3 separate regions of the Homo sapiens genome follow, and regions 1 and 2 are each linked to region 3. Evidence: promoter capture Hi-C in 16 types of primary human blood cells and fetal thymus (Javierre and others, 2016). All regions are on one chromosome and are shown on one strand. Each heading gives the region's core, a stretch centred on a gene start or on the middle of the fragment in contact. The rest is flanking DNA. Distances are from core to core; before and after follow the strand shown.

Evidence for each region. The method cuts DNA at HindIII sites, captures the fragments that hold promoters and counts their contacts. A CHiCAGO score of 5 or more calls a contact.
Region 1: a contact is called between a fragment that was not itself captured here and the fragment with the promoter of RBBP8 in region 3, in 3 of 17 cell types (total CD8 T cells, M0 macrophages and total CD4 T cells). The highest score is 5.4, in total CD8 T cells.
Region 2: a fragment that was not itself captured here is called in contact with the fragment with the promoter of RBBP8 in region 3 in 7 of 17 cell types (non-activated CD4 T cells, naive CD4 T cells, monocytes and 4 more); the score reaches 7.8 in non-activated CD4 T cells.

The regions. Positions count from the first base shown.
Region 1 is chr18:23,395,201-23,397,900 of GRCh38, forward strand. All of the region lies in intron 4 of SLC35D4 (solute carrier family 35 member D4), which reads right to left. Among named protein-coding and RNA genes, the nearest start is that of SLC35D4, 41 kb to the right of the region's middle. The HindIII fragment of the contact is 3,960 bases long and covers 1-2,700 here.
Region 2 is chr18:23,427,705-23,430,404 of GRCh38, forward strand. All of the region lies in intron 2 of SLC35D4 (solute carrier family 35 member D4), which reads right to left. Among named protein-coding and RNA genes, the nearest start is that of SLC35D4, 8.9 kb to the right of the region's middle. The HindIII fragment of the contact is 6,062 bases long and covers 1-2,700 here.
Region 3 is chr18:22,931,899-22,934,598 of GRCh38, forward strand. RBBP8 (RB binding protein 8, endonuclease) reads left to right here and starts at 1,430. Exons shown (of 19, transcript NM_002894.3): 1 at 1,430-1,666. RBBP8-AS1 (RBBP8 antisense RNA 1) reads right to left here and starts at 1,866. Exons shown (of 5, transcript NR_198963.1): 1 at 1,690-1,866. MIR4741 (microRNA 4741) reads left to right here and starts at 1,451; the gene lies at 1,451-1,540. RefSeq lists enhancers at 1,160-2,000, 1,684-1,813, 2,174-2,223 and a silencer at 1,474-1,553. The HindIII fragment of the contact is 3,221 bases long and covers 394-2,700 here.

The DNA of each region.
Region 1 (2,700 bases), core at 176-2,675, 460 kb after region 3:
GCGGATGCTCCATTCTACACCAACATTTACACTCTTCCTTTGTGGATCCAACTTCCTTTATGATATTGGAGCCACACAAAGACAGAGAGGACCCACGGGTACCATTTTGCTTAACTGAGTAACTCACTCCACATGGGTTTAATGATCCATATGTGTTTCCTCATCAACATCCCCCTACCGCACACACAATCCCATCTCCATCCCCAGTATGTTGAGTGAATATTGTGCTCATGGAAGAGAGAAACAAGGACAAGCCATTAGGAAGGACCAAGATCAAAGAGCTCAGCAAGGAAAACAATTCCTGTCCTGTCAAGGTGCCTTGACCTAGACTTCTAGGGTCCCTCCAGCTGCAGACCCTGGCCTCCCCCAAGCAAGAAAACAGCATGGCTTGAGCCAAATTGCCAATGCCAGGATGGCCTCTCTCCACCAAGCTCAGTAATGTATGAATTTGTACATCTTTTCTGAACACTGGCCAGCACAGGCTGAGGCAGTCCTGTCCAGCTGAGAAGGCTTTTGACCAGGAAATTATAAGAAGAGTCATGAGCCATCAAAGTCATACTGTCCCTCCAAGACTGACACTCACCCATCAGAGCCATGATCACTGTGACCTTACTCAGTGTAGGAAAGCTGGGCAAGCAGGCCCGAATCAGCCCAAGTCCAACTCACACTTCATCAAGATTGGTGACAGAAAGTGCCTGGCACATGCTTAACATCAAATATTCATGGTGGCTGTTCCCATGGTGAGCTGTGTGTCTTTCACTCCCTGCCCCATCCCTTTCAGTTCCTCAAGGTCAGAAACCAGGTCTTATTTGTCTTTATGCCCCCAACACATAGTAGGTCCCAAATAACTATGTAGTGAATGGACAGCTACAAGAAAAATCTCCTTTCCCTTAACTCTGTAGATCATTTGGTTGTGAGTCTGAGGTAGAAAAATCAACCAAGAGCTTTTCCCATAGCATCTGTGCAGAGTTAACTCAGCTTCCTCCCAGAAGCTACAGATCAGGAGAACAGAACTTCAAGGTCTTGTCAGATAAAGGAGGGCTTTATGGAGCAGAGCTACCCCGAAAGTGTTTTGCATAACAATACATCTACGGATTTTAATGGAGCGCTTTTCCCCCATTCCTTATGGATTCATTAAACTGACAGCTTGGCACCAGCATATTGATGCCTGTTTTCTATCCAACACAAACTGTACAAGTGCCTCATGTTTATCCACCCTATGAATTTCTAAGCAACGATGTAAAAACAAAGAACTCAGAAACAAAGAAAAGATGCTGGGTTGAGTTATTTTACTATAAAACAATAATAAGCATCTGCTTTCCGCCCTCCTCCCACTCTAATTGGGTGTATTTGGTTTTTGGTTGTTTCCCTTTGTTCAAAGATTTTGAATTGCAACAGCTTCTTTTTGCTTATTTAAGAAGAATGTGCTCTCAGCAGGGTGCATGGCCCGTGTCTGTAGTCCCAGCTACTCGGGAGGCTGAGGCAGGAGGATGACGTGAGCCCAAGAGTTTGAGGCCAGCATGGGCAACACAGTGAGACCCCCATCTCTAAAAAAAGGCTGTGCTCTAGAGGAATGCCACTCAAAGTGCTGGTCCTCGAGAAGATAAGGAGTTGGCAAGAGAATGTAAAATCAATGCATCGCTTCCTCCTTCAAAATGTCTTGCAAAAAAAAAAAGCCAGCTCAATTAAACAGTGTGATTAGTGCCAAAGTCGATCTCTTCATGGACAGGTAACAAAGAATTCAAAGACCAGGACAGCTGCAGATCACAGCTCAAGAAGCGTTGTTGAAGGCTGCAGAACTCCCCAACTGCCTGAAAACACACTAGACTGACATTTACCATGGTCTTCTGAGAGGGTTTGGCAACTTAGTATCAGTACCTCTTTGTGTGTGTGTGGGGCGGCGGGGGGAGGGTAAAGCACTCCAACATTGAGGATCCATTACAGCCTGCTCTCCATATCTGGGACCCAGGCAGAGATCCTACATGAATAGGCCTCCAAGTGTCTCCAACCACAGTGAATGGTTCAGGGAAGTCTTGAACCAGGGCTGGCCAATCAACATAATTCCAACCTTGTGGTCAGTTTTCAGATCAAGGATGGGCAGTGGCCCTGACTGATCCAATCAGAGTGAAGCCTGGGACTCATGCAGGAACTACCAGGAAAATGGTCTCTTTCCACTAAAGTTGTGAGAATGTGAGGCTGCAGTTGACACCCATTGTTGGGGGCAGCTGTACAACACTCATTGTTGCTATAGGGGTGGGCTGGATGTGAAAAGAAACAAAGATGGGGAGCAGAATTGAAAGACAGAGAAACTGGATTCTGAGTGTAATACTGGAGCCTCTGGACAAAGCCATTCGTGACATAGGTTTCTACCCCAAGACTTTTCAGTTATATGAACTGGTAAATCTTCCTTTTGCTTAGACCAGTTTTTGAGCTTTCTAACACTTGCAACTGAAAGAGTCTAATGTTATACAATGACTACTACACCCTGGGCTCACTCTAAAATCCATACGCATTGGCCCTAAAGAAACAATTCTGAAAAGGCAAAAGGTGGGGAGTTAGAAGAGCTGCCATGCCAGGTGCAGTAGCTCATGCCTGTAATCCCAGTGTTCTGGGAGGCTGAGGCGGCAGGATTGCTTGCGCCCAGGAGGTCAAGATCAGTCTGGGCAACAGAGCAAGACCCCATCTCTAAAAGAAAATAAA
Region 2 (2,700 bases), core at 196-2,695, 500 kb after region 3:
AAGACACATGCACACATATGTTTATTGCGGCACTATTCACAATAGCAAAGACTTGGAACCAACCCAAATGTCCACCAATGATAGACTGGATTAAGAAAATGTGGCACATATACACCATGGAATACTATGCAGCCATAAAAAAGGATGAGTTCATGTCCTTTGTAGGGACATGGATGAAGCTGGAAACCATCATTCTGAGCAAACTATCGCAAGGACAGAAAACCAAACACCACACGTTCTCACTCATAGGTGGGAATTGAACAATGAGAACACTTGGGCACAGGGTGGGAAACATCACACACAGGGGCCTGCCATGGGTTGGGGGGAGAGGGGAGGGATAGCATTAGGAGATACACCTAATGTAAATGACGAGTTAATGGGCACAGCGCACCAACATGGCACATGTATACATATGTAACAAACCTGCACATTGTGCACATGTACCCCAGAACTTAAAGTATAATAATAAAAAAATTAAAAGAATTTATTAAATTAATAAGAAAAACACTAAAACCTCAATGAAAATAAATGGGTAAAAGGCACAACTAGACAATTCACTAAAAAAGAGATACAAGTGGATCATATGCATAAGAAAATTGTCCACCTTGATGAATAATCTAAAAAATTATACGACAAAACAACATACCTTTTGCTCATGAAATCAGCAAAGAGAATCACAGTTTGAGTACAATATTATAGAAACATTCACGTAGAGGCTGAGTGGCAATGTCAATTGGTAAAACATTTTTGGAAAAGAATATGTTAATATTCAAGGAGAATACTAAAGAAGTTCATGCACTTTAACCCAAATTTATTAATTTTTATGTTTTTTAGACAGGATCTCACTTTGTCACCCAAGCTGGAGTACAGTGGCATGATTACAGCCCACTGCAGCCTCTAACTCTTAGGGTCCAACAATCCTCCTGTCTCAACCTCCTGAGTAGCTGAGACTACAGGTTCATGTCACCATGCCTAGCTAATTTTTTTTTTTTTTTTAAAGATTCAAGGGGTGCTTGTGCAGATTTGCTACACAGGTACATTGCGTGATGCTGGTTTGGGCCTCTATTGATCCTGTCACCCAAACAGTGAGCACAGTACCTAATAGGTAGTTTTTCAATCCTTACTTACCTCTCTCCCTAACTCTCCCCTTGGGGAATCCCCAGTGTCTACTATTCCATCTTTATGTCCATGTGTACCCAATGTTTAGCTGCCATTTATAAGTAAAAACATGCAGTATTTGGTTTTCTCTTTCTGTGTTAATTCACTTAGGATAATGACCTTCAGCTACATCCATGCTGCTGCTAAGGACATAATTGTGCTCTTTTTTACGGCTGCATAGTATTCCATGGTATATATATACACCAGATTTTCTTTATCCAATCCACTGTTGATGGGCACCTAGGTTGATTCCATGTCTTTGTTATTATGCATAGTGCTGTGATAAAATACACGTGAGTGTAGGTATATTTTTGGTAGAAGAATTTATTTTCCTCGAGTATATACCCAGTAATGGGATTGCTGGGTCAAATGGTAATTCTATTTTTCATTCTTTTAGAAGTCTCCAAACTGCTTTCCATAGGGGCTAAGCTAATTCACAATCCTACCAACAGTGTATAAACGTTTCCTTTTTTCCAAAACTTCGCCAACATGTTATTTTTTGCCTTTTTTTTAGACGGATTTTCACTCTTGTTACCCAGGCTGGAGTACAACGGTGCAATCTCAGCTCACTCCAACCTCCAGCTCACTCCAACCTCCGCCTCCCAGGTTCAAGCCATTCTCCTGCCTCAGCATCCCAAGTAGCTGGGATTACAGGAATGTGCCATTATGCCTGGCTAATTTTTTTGTATTTTTAGTAGACATGGGGTTTCGCCATGCTGGTCAGGCTGATCTTGAACTCCTGACCTCAGGTAATCCTCCCACCTTGGCCTCCCAAAGTGGTGGGATTACAGGCATGAGCCACCACACCGGCCATTTTTTGACTTTTTAATAACAGCCATTCTGACTGGTATGAGGTGGTATCTCATTGTGGTTTTGATTTGCATTTCTCTGATGATTAGTGATGTTAAGCACTTTTTCATATGTTGGCCACTTGCATGTCTTGTTTTGAGAAGTGTCTATTCGTGTACTTTGCCCACTTTTAAAGGAATTATTTAGTTTTTTTCTTGTTGATTTATTTAGGTTCCTTATAGATTGTGGATATTAGTCCTCTGTTGGATGCATAGTTTGCAAATATTTTCTCCCATTCTGTAGGCTGTCTGTTTACTCTGTTAATAGTTTCTTTTGCTGTTCAGAAAGTCTTTAGTTTAATAAGGTCCCAATTGTCAATTTTTGTATTTGTTGCATTTGCTTTTGAGGACTTACCATAAATTCTTTGTCTAAGCCAGTGTCCAGAAAAGTATTTCCTAGGTTTTCTTCTTGGATTTTTAGAGTTTGAGATCTTACATTTAAGTCTTTAATCCATCCTGAGTTAATTTTTGTATATGGTGAGACAAAGGGGTCCAGTTTCATTTTTCTGCATATGGTTAGCCAGTTTTCTTTTTTATTTTTTTTTTGTAGACAGTGTCTTGCTATGTTGCCCAGACTGGTCCTGAACTCCTGGCCTCCTACAATCCTCTTGCCTCAGCCTCCCAAAGCGCTGGTATTATAGTAATGAGACACCACGCCTAGCCTAAACCAAATTTCTTATGTAGGAATCAATCC
Region 3 (2,700 bases), core at 180-2,679:
ACACCAGTGAAAACAAAGATTTAGGAGGGGTGGTTGGTAGCGTGGATGTGGAAAGGAGCCTAGCAGTAGACTAGGTAAGAAATAACAGTATCTTGGATTATGGAGGTAGTGATGGAGAGAAGGGGATGGATTTACATGTTTAGTAAGTAAAATTGGACTGCGTGATGGCTTGGATATGGAAGTTAGGGATGAATAAAGTGTCAAGGATGACTCTTTGGTTTCTGACTTGCATAAATGGATTAGAGAGTGAGACACAGGCAGAGGCCATAGGAACAGGTTGGGTCATTCTGCTCAGTTTTTCTTTGGACCACAGTAGAGACCACAGCACACTGCTCTTTCAATACTCTGTTAAATGACAAACTTATTACAGGTTATTTCTGTCATAAACATAAAAGCTTCACTCTGTCAATTATGTTTCCTATCTTGCGTTAAAAATTACATAGTCAAAATTTCATCCATTTTCTTTTAAAAATGTGGAGTTAAGTCTTATAAAATGGGGAAGTGAATGATAGTTGCTGTAACAGGCTAATAGAAGGTTTAGCACCCCTCTTCTGTATACTAACTTTTTAAGTTATATTTATTCATCCCTTAAGATGTGGGACAGGTGGAAAAATTACCTTTCCACTTTGTATTTATGATTTCTAAGTACTAAACTTTTAAAGCCTGTTAATATTATCCCTTCCCAGGTCTTAGAATAATTACACAAAAGTACTGGACTGGTTTAAAAGATATTTGATTCTAGTCTATTTTGTTCATTTGTAGAATTTCTAGTGGTCTAAAAACGATTCTTTTACAAATCAGGAGAAATAGGAATACCTACTATCGGTTTGAATCTCAAACGAACAGCCACAAGAAAAATGGACTTTTTAAAAAAAATTATCTAACAGCATGTTGTCCCAATAAATAATGCTGAAGGAGATTCCTTCTCGTTTCAAATTTGCCAGAAACTTCCCGTTTAACCTCAGCAAAATACAGATCGTTTTGATCTATGGCGTTACCGCACAACCCTGTCAGGTCACATCACTAAACTGCAGATAACAGCGACAAGGCCGAAAACTATGTTAGACGGATCCGCGTCCATACCCCCCATCAGTTAATTTTAACTCTTCATTCGGTACAGGTCACTCTACACATGCTTCCCTGCAAAATGCTTAAGCTAGACACAGTGTACAGATAACTTTCACAGAACCGCAAGGGCTTGATGCTCCCCCAACAGAACGGCTTGAGCTTTCCCCAGCGCAATTCAGAAATGCTGTGGCGGTCGCCAGACTCTTCGGGTAGCTCCCGGCAGCTCCGAGGTAGCGCTCCCCTCCCCAACCATCGCCCTCCGGGATGGGCCGCACCGAAGAGCCCGCTCCTCAGCTAGGGCACGAAGTGCGCCGCCGCGATGGGCAGCTGGAGGAAGGGGCGTGACGCAAGTGGAACTCCCGCGTGACGTCGCGCGGGCTCCCGGGCGGGGCGGGTCCGGCCGCCTCCGAGCCCGGCCGGCAGCCCCCGGCCTTAAAGCGCGGGCTGTCCGGAGGGGTCGGCTTTCCCACCGAGGATTTGGCACTCTGGTGAGGGAAAAGGGCGAAAGAGAAAAGCGAGCAGCCGTCCTTTCACAGCCTCAGAAAGTGCTCGCTTCCCTTCGGGGGCTTTCGCGAATCCCGAGGCAATCTCGGAGGCGGTGAGTAAAAGCAATCTCTTTACCCCACCCGGAGCTCTGGGTCGGAGCGACTGCTTCTGGTCTGGAGCTGCGTGCTTGGCGAAGGGCTCCCGGGGTAGGGGTGGCTCCCGGCTCTGGGGTTGTGTCTGATGAAATAGGCCGGGCCCGGGCTACACTCGGTGGTGGTGGACCGGCGGGAGGACGAGCGCTACCTCAGTACTACTTCTGGGTCTCCCGCGCGGGCTGAGGAAGCGCCTTTCGCCGCCAAGCCCGCCCCGCGCATGCGCCGACTGCGGCTCGCGCGCGCGCTTCGGAGGTTTTTTGGCCAGACCCGCACGCGGAACCGGCGCGGGCACCTGGGGAGAAATGGATGGAGAAGGGACCTGGCTGGAAAGCCTTTGCCCCGCTGCTCTGCTCCGCCCATAAGAGGACCCCTGAAATGTCCCGTGCAGTTTGTTCAAGTCCCCTGTGTGATGAAATGTGCCTCTCGCCTTACCCGTGTGAGAATACCTGTGGTGTGGCAGCGAGTATTTTGGTGAGCACCTGCAGTGTAGTGGTTTATACTAAGGAATACACACAAATTACAGGCCTTTGAGCCCAGAATGCAACTTGGGAGGTAAGACGTGACGTTCTGAGAGATTGAAAAATGTACATTGTCGTCGTGCCTCGAATAACGGTTCATTGCAGAGAGAGATGCTAACAAAAAGTGCCGGGCATGCGGGTAGGTGGAAAGGGTTTTGCGAGCCAGAATTTGCAAGTTGAATGTTTTGTTTTTATGTTTTGTTTTTAAGGCACTGTACATCACTTACTTGAAGATAGATACGTAAAGGATGCTTATTTTACACTCTTTAAACGAATATGTTAATACTTTTTCGGTCATTGAAGTAATTAAACCTTCATTTTAAACTGTTGACTTAATAGAAATCGTTTATGTCTTCTTTTTTTTTCTTTTTGCTGCAGAGAGGTATTTTTTCTTTATTTTATTATTATTTTTTATACTTTAAGTTCTAGGGTACATATGCACGACGTGCAGGTTTGTTACATATGCATACATG